Linked DNA regions of Homo sapiens: all the other regions are linked to region 3. The links are contacts of gene promoters, found by promoter capture Hi-C in human tissues and cell types (Jung and others, 2019). All regions are on one chromosome and are shown on one strand. Each heading gives the region's core, a stretch centred on a gene start or on the middle of the fragment in contact. The rest is flanking DNA. Distances are from core to core; before and after follow the strand shown.

Region 1 (2,790 bases), core at 62-2,561, 710 kb before region 3:
ACTGGGCTCTCTGATACCGGGAGAAATGTGGTGGGGTTTAGGGTGTTGCAAACTTCAATGGTTATGTGGGGATTTTCAAATAGCATGATTTGGTACTTGGTTAATCTATCATTTGTTAACCAATGATATCCTTTGGTATTTATTAAGGTTACCACAGCATGGGGGGTCTTTATATTCAGATTTTGCTTAAGGGTTAGTTTATCTGCTTCTTGTGCTAACAGGGCTGTTGCTGCCAGGGCCCTTAGACGTGGGGCCAGCCTTTGGAAACCCTGTCTAGTTGTTTTGAGAAATAGACCACTAGCCTTGACCAGGGCCCCACAGTCTGGGTTAAAACTCCAACTGCCATTTTTTCTCTTTCTGACACATAGAATGTTGAGTTTTGTCAGGTCAGGTAGCCTCAGGGCTGGAGCTGACGTGAGTTTTCTTTTAACTCATGAAAAGCTCGTTGCTGTTGGTTGTAATAGATGTAGTTTATCCAATCTACATTTTTATTAACTGTCACCTACCAAAATATTGACTCAAATCCTGCAGCTATTTGATTTCAAGCTTTAAATTGATCTGGTATTCCTCGTGGGACTCCAATTGCGTCTAAATAGACATGAGAGTTGAAAGACCCCTAAGGAGCTTCTCTCGCTTTATGATGTCTTATTGATGAAATGCCAGGGTGAAAGGGATAGCCAACCGGACTAAAGTACAAGTGCCACTCCAGTTATTCGGCAGAGTGCCCAGTAAAGGTCCACCACAATACCACCACACATCCGCTCAGGGATGAACAAGGGCTGCCTCATTGATAAGCTCTTGAAAATTCTTATGCTTCACTGCATCCTTTCAGGTCTCCAAGGAACACGAAGTTTCCTCCCTGTCATGAGAGACACGAAGTGAACTTAGTGTTGGGAGACGGAGGTTGGATGGCCCTCAGGGGCTGACCCACAGGGTGCTGGACTTTGGGATATAGCAGAGAGAGCTTGGCACGACTTATTACTCCAGGCCGTAGAATCCTGGAAAAGAGCTACCATGCAGCCCACACCTGGTCAACTGGAGGACCACCTTAGTGGAAAGGGGACAATCTGGGCCTCTGGCCTGCCATGTGCACAAGCATAACAATTGGTTTTATTTAATGTCAAATGGAATATTTGATCCATTTTAACTAGGCATTTGCATCTTGGTATCCTGTCTTAATTGATAAAGTTTGTTTTAAGTCTTTAACTTCTATGATCCTCTAGTAAAATGAATGTATGGTTTTAGGAAATTATAAAAACCGGTTGGGTCAGTCCGTCCTTGCTCTTTAGTGGTCCACAGGACGTTGGACCAACTATGGCATGAAAGCTCTACGTCAGGGGGCAAGACTCCTAGTTGGCACTGGGGTGTTTATTGAAATCTCCCCGGATTAAATGGTCCTCGTTTACTAATGCCCAGTCTGAGGAGAGTCAGGAGGGGCAGAGATACTTTTCTGAAGTAGAAAGCTGTCTTGGAATTGGCAAGTCCCCACAGGGTATAACAAGGCAAGAATTAAATGCAATAGTTTGAGGTGAAATTGATTTGATTATGTTAATAACTATATGGTCAACAATAGAATGAGGAAAGAAGAAAGAGTAATAGAGTAGATGAAAAGAGTTACATTTTTCTTAGCTTTAGTTTGGTAGGGTTTTCCCCTGGGACTATGGCCCCCACCTCTGGAGGGGGTGGCGCTTTCTTGACTTGGGTGTGATGAGTCCATCTTTTTTTTTTTCTGTAAAAACAGCAGTCTTGGTGGTTAGCAGGACAAGGTAGGGTCCTTCCCAGGCGGGCTCAAGTTTTTCTTCTTTCCACCCTTTGATGAGAACGTGATCTTCAGGCTGGTGCTGATTTACTGGAAATTCTAGCGGTGGTACATGTGCTAAAAGACTTTTAGTTTTTGAGAGAAAGGAAAGTGGAAGATAAACCAAGTATATAATTTTTAAGAAACTGACCTTTTGTTTTAAATGTGGGGACCTTGGCAGTGGACTTTATAGTCCTTAGTGTCTTTTTACTGAGAAATTTCCTTTAGCACCTATTTTTATTAGTTTTTAAACCAAAGAAAGCCAAATACCATTTTACATTTAACAATGCTTCTTGTATGATTTTTATACCAGATAAGCTAAATGTTATGTTTATATTAGTGTGTTATTAATGTTAAACCTAATTTTAATAAAAGCCTGTAGACATATTTATCTAATTTTTAATGTTTGACCGTAAGTTACGATTTTATAGACTCTTTTTAACCTTTCATAATTTTTGCTAAAGAGCAGGTTGGTGCTTTAAGAAAAACCTGTTATGCTTTTACTTTAATGTCTAGTTCACAGAAAAACTGGATGATACTTCTTTAACTTTAGCAAATATGTTTATACACAGAATTTCCTTTACAATTAATGTTTTAAAATTTGCTTAAACCTTCAAAACAATAAATTTTTAACTTTTTAATGTAGGTAAAAATGTACATTCTTATGCCTCCTTATAATCCTTTTACCAAAGATATATTTTACTTTTCTTATACACCTTGCACATAAACTGTTGTTTTTTTTTTTTTTCAATAGTTTTACATTCAGGAGGCCTAGTTACTTTTAAATTATACAACATTTTTTGCATAAATTCTTTTTTATAACATTTTTCTCTTTCTTGACTTTTGCAGACAATTCTTCCACATGCCTCAACTTTCTGACTTATTACAAATATTTCTTTCTTTAAACAACCAGTTAATTTATTTCAGGACAAGAATTTACCATATAATACTCTTTTTATATAAATTCCACCCGCCCCCTTTTTTTTCCTTTT
Region 2 (3,121 bases), core at 172-2,671, 620 kb before region 3:
GGCACTCCCCTTCAGACAGGCCCTGGGTGGGTGTGGTCACCAGGTGAGCGGGCTGTGGGCTTGGGGCTGCCTTCGTCCCTGCAGGCACCACAGGCTTCCGATTCTTCCAGCAGTGGCCATAGCCAGCCTGTGCATGGTGTGGGTGCCAGAGTGGCCCTGCCCCTTCTTAGATGCCAGCAGGCCTTGGATGCTGTGCTGTGCCTGGTGTCTGCTCCTGCCCTCCCTGGCAGAGGGCTACTGCTGCTTGCTTCCGGCTCCTTGGCGTGCTCCTGGCCCAGCCTCCATCGCAGGTGGGTCCTATACCCTTGGGGTGCAGGGCTCGTGCCCACTCCTGCTCCTGCTGCCAAACTCTGCCTTATACCTGGACAGTGGCTTGGGCGGGAGAGTGTCTGAGCCAGGGCAGGCCTTGAGTTGAAAATGTTTCCTGCCTCTCCCCGGTGGCTCTGTACCTGGTAGAAGGAGGGAAGAGGCTGCAGGTTCCCCATTCCCTGTTTTCTCCTTTCCTGCCCTCTGGCAGCTGCCAAACTCGGGGTGGGCGGGGAGGCCTTTGCCCTGCGCTCCGGAGTGCACACAGAGCTCTGTGCATGGTGTGAGAGTTCAACAGAAACGGGAATGAGGAAGGGGGAACAGTCGGGTTTGGAAATGGTTTTTACTCAGAGTTGAAGGCACTGCCTTTTACCTTGAGCAACGTAAAGCTGTTCTGATTCCTGATTCTCTGTATGGAAGGATTCTCTCGGGCAGTGTCCAGGGTCTTATGGCAGGAATGACATCTCCAGTCCCCTGTCCCCCTCTGGAATTTTGCCTATCCAGGGGATCCCCCTCTCTTGACCCTGGGGAGGTTTATGTGGCCTGCTGGGGTGGCAATTGCCATGTGACTGACGGGTTGAGGGGGCTCAGGCTTGGCCCGGGTGCCATGTTGGAAGGAAGCCCAGGCCGCGGGGATAGGCCATGCAGGTGTGCTGTCTGCCAGCCGCGTTGACCACCAGCTACACACAAGTGAGCCTACAGGTGCCTCGAGCCACCCCAGCTGATGAGCAGAGCAGAGCAGAGCCCAGCCGCCCCTGTGAGCCCCGCTCCAGATACAGATGTGTGAGCAAAATAAATGTTGCCACTGTCTGAAGCCATTTTTCTGGGGGTTGTCGTTAAACAGGCTTAGTGCCTGAGGCGGGACTCTGTGGCCGGTTCTCTGTCATGTCACATTGGACCTTGGCATGGGCCATGCCCGTCGTGTGCTGGGCATGTGCTGGACCATGTCAGCCCTGCACCAGCCTTCCTGGGGCCTGCCATGGACCCACGCTGCCCGCCGGCGATGCCGTCTCTGGATCCAGTCACTGAGCGGGGGGTGTTAGACCCATAAAGAAGCAAAGTTTAGGGGGAGCTTGGAAGGGAGTGGGCTGCCCCGGGCCTCTTCACGCGACGCCAACGCCACCTTGGTGTGAGCCAACAGAGAGGGCTGTGCCCCAGGTGTGGGGTTGCGGGCAGGAGCTGCCCACTCAGGCTCTCTGAGGCGTCTTTGAGTCGTTCTCTCTCAGTTCAGACTTCCCTCCGACAGCTTCCCAAAGCTTTGATGGAGCTGTCCTGAGTCACCTGCACAACCTTGCTAGCTGCAGCCTAAGGAGACACTGAGCGAGCACACGGTTCACATTTCTAAAATGATGCTTTAATCAAATATGTTAAGCTAACTCTTTTTTTTTTTTTAACAGAGTCTTGCTCTGTCACCCAGGCTGAAGTACAGTGGCACAATCTCGGCTCACTGCAACCTCCGCCTCCTGGGTTCAGGCAGTTCTCCTGCCTCAGCCTCCCAAGTATCTGGGATTACAGGCGTGTGCCACCACACCCAGCTAAGTTTTATATTTTTAGTAGAGACGGGGGGTTTCACCATATTGGCCAGGCTGGTCTTGAACCCCTGACCTCAGGTGATCTGCCTGCCTAGGCCTCCCAAAGTGCTGGGATTACAGGTGTGAGCCACCGAAGAGAACACTTTTTAAATGTTATTTCGGTGCCAGTACTTGCTTCAATTAAGCGCTCATTAGTTAAAAAGAATGCTAGCCTCCATCTGAGCCCCACCAAGGCCTCACTGTCCTTCCTGGCGGGAGAAGCCAGCGGATATGCCCTTGAGCTGAGGGCTGTCGAGGATGTGGTGGTCCAGGGCATCCCTGGACTCACTGTCTGACAGGCAGGGACAGCCCCTGCAGAGGAAGAGGCTGAACACTGGACAGGGGTGCCTGCCACTCCACAGGGCCTGTCCAGTGCCTATCCTGGTGGGTGAGTAGCAGGCTCGCTGCCTACTCCGGGCCCACCACCACCACCAGGGCTGTGCTGCAGGTTGCAAAAGGCCCAGCGGCGCCCGAGCCACTCCTTATCTGGTGAGGAAGATGCCCAGACACAGGGCAGCTCTCAGCACGGGAAAGGAAAAGCCTGACCTTTGGGCCACATCACAGACACCTGGTTGATTTAATAAGACTGAATCGTGGCCGGGCATAGTGGCTTAAGCCTGTAATCCCAACACTTTGGGAGGCCAAGGCAGGTGGATCACTTGACCTCAGGAGTTTAAGACCAGCCTGGCCAACATGGCAAAACTCCATCTATACCAAAAATACAAAAATTAGCTGGCATGGTGGTGCATGCCTGTAGTCCCAGATACTTGGGAGGCTGAGATGGTAGGATCACTCGAGCCCAGGAGGTGGAGGTTGCAGTGACCCAAGATCGTGCCACTGCACTCCAGCCTGGGCAACAGCACCAGACCTTATCTCACAAAAACCCACAAAAATCCTGAATTGTAAAGCCACTAATAGACTAGCTCTGCAATGAAGTACTCAAAGAAAGGATTAGAAACCCAGTGTTCCTCAGATGCAGTCTTTAGGACTTAAATAACTTAAACGGTGGCCTGTAATGAGCTGCACCTGTGTCCCTGTGAGGGTGCCTGCCAAGCCTTTGAAGCCATGTGTTGTCTTAGGCGGGTTGCATGTCTTCTTGCACTGCTGTTTTTGCTAGACATTTGCTCACAATCCTTTTTTACATTTTTAAACAAATAGCACAAATATGAACTTGGGCTCGGACCAAGACAGTAGTTCTGAGCTTAGTGAAATTCACAGCACTAGGGTGAAGTGACTGGGCACGG
Region 3 (2,983 bases), core at 117-2,616:
GCCTGAGCGTCGGCGCGCCCTCTGACCCCTCACGCCAGAAAGCGCGGGAACGAATCCACGCCGGGGGTCGGGAACGGAGAGCCGCCAGGCCCAAACCTCCCAGAATTTGCGCAGTATTCTCGGCCTAGAGAGCGAGGAGTGGCCTTGGCGAGGTCCCTCTTTGGCTCTTCTGGCTTAGCCGGGGTTTTAAACTTGTTATCTGCAAAGCAGAAGGAAAGTCAGCCCCTGATGTAAGTGTCAAGTAAAATAAATCGGATGGGTCCTTTCCTGTTTGGCGAGGAATGCTACACTAAGGGGGACTGCGTTCAAATGGGCAGTCTTTGCTGGAAACCTCGCCTCCGCGCGCCTTCCCTCGCTCGGATTCAGGCGCTTTTACGTTAAGGGTTGAATTTTTGTGTCAACAGGCACCTCGGGAGGTCGCCTAGACAACTGAGCGGAGCAACTGAGATAACCCCCGCTACGTGTGGAGTGACCTAGTCCATTAACTTGCCCCAGCACGCCCGCTGAGTCCGCAAAATATAGGATGGCCTCGGGTTTTAGATGAACCCAAAGCTAAGATTTCTTCCCTCTCTGGAATTAGCAAGCAGCCCGCCCTGCCCAACTCCCCTGGAAGCGCGCGTGCTCGCCAGGCCTCGGGACGCCTGCGCGGGCGCCCTTGCACTGGCACCAGGGCTCCGGGGTAGGGGCGCACCGATCTGCCCAAGCCTCTGCAGGCACTGGAGGAAGGCGAGCCCTCCACCCGCTCAACAGGCCCCAGTGCCGGCCTTTCCTTCCAGTCTCAACTCCACCCGGGGGCCCGGGGGCTCCACAGTTAAAAACTCCACGCCACGGAGATCGCAGGTAAGCTGCTGGCTCAACGAGGTGTGCTAAATGGGATTAAAGATCCTGGACCGTGGCCAGGCGCGGCGGCTCAAGCCTGTAATCCCAGCGATCAGGGAGGCCGCCGCGGGAGGATTGCTTGAGCCCAGGAGTTTGAGACCAGCTTGGGCAACATAGCGAGACACCGTCTCTACAAAAAAATAACAAATAGTGGGGCGTGATGGCGCGCGCCTGTAGTCTCAGCTACTTGGGCGGTCGAGATGGGAGGATCGATCGAGTCTGGGAGGTCGAGGCTGCAGTGAGCCAGGATCACCGCCAAGATCGCGCCACTGCATTCCAGCCTGGGCGACAGAGGGAGACCCTGTCTCAAAAACAAACAAAAAATCCTAGACCGTTTACAAACAGCCTTCCGTCTCTTCCTGGTCAAGTCCTAACCCTGGCTAACCTCGCCGTCTACAGCCTGAATTTTGGCAACCGAAAGGCAGCGCCGGCGCCACGTGCACACGGGCTGGGCCGCTCCGCCAGCTGCCAGGGCCACTGCCGCGCTCACTCCCAGAGCGCGCTGCGAGCCGCGGCGCCTTTGTGACGCCATCAGCCCGCGCGCCGCCGCCGCCGCCTTCTGTGCAGTCGCGGCCCGGGCGGACGGTGGCTGGCTGCTCCGCAGCGCTCGGCTGGCTGCAGCGGCACCGCGGGTTGCGCGGCCGGGGATGCTCCAGCGGGCGCGATGGCCCCCGCCATGCAGCCGGCCGAGATCCAATTTGCCCAGCGGCTGGCGTCCAGCGAGAAGGGCATCCGGGACCGAGCGGTGAAGAAGCTGCGCCAGTACATCAGCGTGAAGACGCAGAGGGAGACAGGTGGGCGCACGGCCGCGGTCAGCCGCGCCACATGGCGGGCCGGGGGCCGGGGCTGGGGCTAGGGCCAGGGCCCCGGCACGGAATGCGGCTTCCACGTGTTGTCGTGACACCCAGCGTGTGCTTCGGTTTCCGCGCTGCCGGAACCGCTTCTTGCTGTGTCTAGTGCCTTTTTACACTTAAGGAAACGGGTTGAGGGGGTTCCGTTACTTATGAAAGTCACAGTAAGCGGGGAAGCTGAGAAAAGACCCACATGGGTCCGATTCCCCAGCCGGCATCTCGAATCACTGGGCTGCCCTGATTTGCCCTGGTGTCCGGTCGGTGATTGCCGCCTTCCTTTGACCAGCACCTTTACGTGACGGGGCTGCAGGAGAGAAGACAGACAAAATCACTACCCTCGAGGATCTATTAGTAATAAAGCAAGGAGGCAAACAGGCAAATAAAGTAGACCTTGTGTAAGTGTAGTAAAGGAAATGAAAACCAGGTAGCAGGCCGGGCGCGGTGTCTCACGCATGTAATCCCAGCACTCTGGGAAGCCGAGGCGGGCGGATCACCTGAGGTCGGGAGTTCGAGACCAGCCGGACCAACATGGTGAAACCCCGGCTCTACTAAAAATACAGAATTAGCCGGGCATGGTGGCGCATGCCTGTAATCTCAGTACTCGGGAGGCTGAGGCAGGAGAATCGCTTGAACCTGGGAGGCGGAGGTTGCGGTGAGCCGAGATCGCAGCATTGCACTCCGGCCTGGGCAACAAGAGCGAAACTCCGTCTCAAAAAGAAAAGAAAAGAAAAAAGGAAAAAGAAAACCAGATAATAGCAAAAAGGGAAGGAGGTTGCTCTTCTTGATAGGCTGTTCTGGGAAGGCCTCTCTGGGCTGATAATCAGCTCAGATCTGAAGAGAAATGAGCGGAAACCGCCTATGCAGAGGCAGGAAAGAGCTTCACGTGCCCTAGGAGTGGTTTGAAAGACCAATAAGTTGGGGTTGGGGGGGCGAGTGTTATGAGATGAAGTTGGAGATGTAGGCAGTGGCCAGATCACACAGGGCTTTGTAGTTTAGATTTTAACGGCACTGCTGTTGGATGATTTCATTTACCTGATCCAAAAATACTTTCTATAAACTCTTGAGTGAGCCCATACAATATGAACTACAATGTGTAATAGAGGTTTTAAGATAAAGTTTTATTTAGTTACTGATGGTACTAATACATTTAGAATCTGCTTAAAAGAACAGATATTATCTCCCCCATCACTGACATTCTCAGTTTGTTTTATTTTTAAGAGAAATCACCAGACTACCCAAAAAAAGAAAATACA

Evidence for each region. Contacts are between HindIII fragments. The study calls those that stand out against the background at their distance.
Region 1: a fragment that was not itself captured here is called in contact with the fragment with the promoter of HSF2BP in region 3 in 1 of the 25 tissues and cell types used here (IMR-90 fibroblasts).
Region 2: a fragment that was not itself captured here is called in contact with the fragment with the promoter of HSF2BP in region 3 in 4 of the 25 tissues and cell types used here (H1 embryonic stem cells, IMR-90 fibroblasts, dorsolateral prefrontal cortex and 1 more).

The regions. Positions count from the first base shown.
Region 1 is chr21:42,945,518-42,948,307 of GRCh38, forward strand. It overlaps LOC124905023 (a long non-coding RNA gene), which reads right to left. Exons shown (of 2, transcript XR_007067882.1): 2 at 1-2,790. Among named protein-coding and RNA genes, the nearest start is that of MIR5692B, 4.1 kb to the right of the region's middle. The HindIII fragment of the contact is 8,157 bases long and covers 1-2,790 here.
Region 2 is chr21:43,038,296-43,041,416 of GRCh38, forward strand. No RefSeq gene overlaps it. Among named protein-coding and RNA genes, the nearest start is that of CBS, 36 kb to the right of the region's middle. The HindIII fragment of the contact is 8,976 bases long and covers 1-3,121 here.
Region 3 is chr21:43,658,122-43,661,104 of GRCh38, forward strand. HSF2BP (heat shock transcription factor 2 binding protein) reads right to left here and starts at 1,367. Exons shown (of 9, transcript NM_007031.2): 1 at 1,265-1,367; 2 at 1-199. It overlaps RRP1B (ribosomal RNA processing 1B), which reads left to right and starts at 1,439. Exons shown (of 16, transcript NM_015056.3): 1 at 1,439-1,673. The coding sequence starts at 1,544. RefSeq lists a silencer at 1,472-1,661 and an enhancer at 2,382-2,431. The HindIII fragment of the contact is 9,655 bases long and covers 1-2,983 here.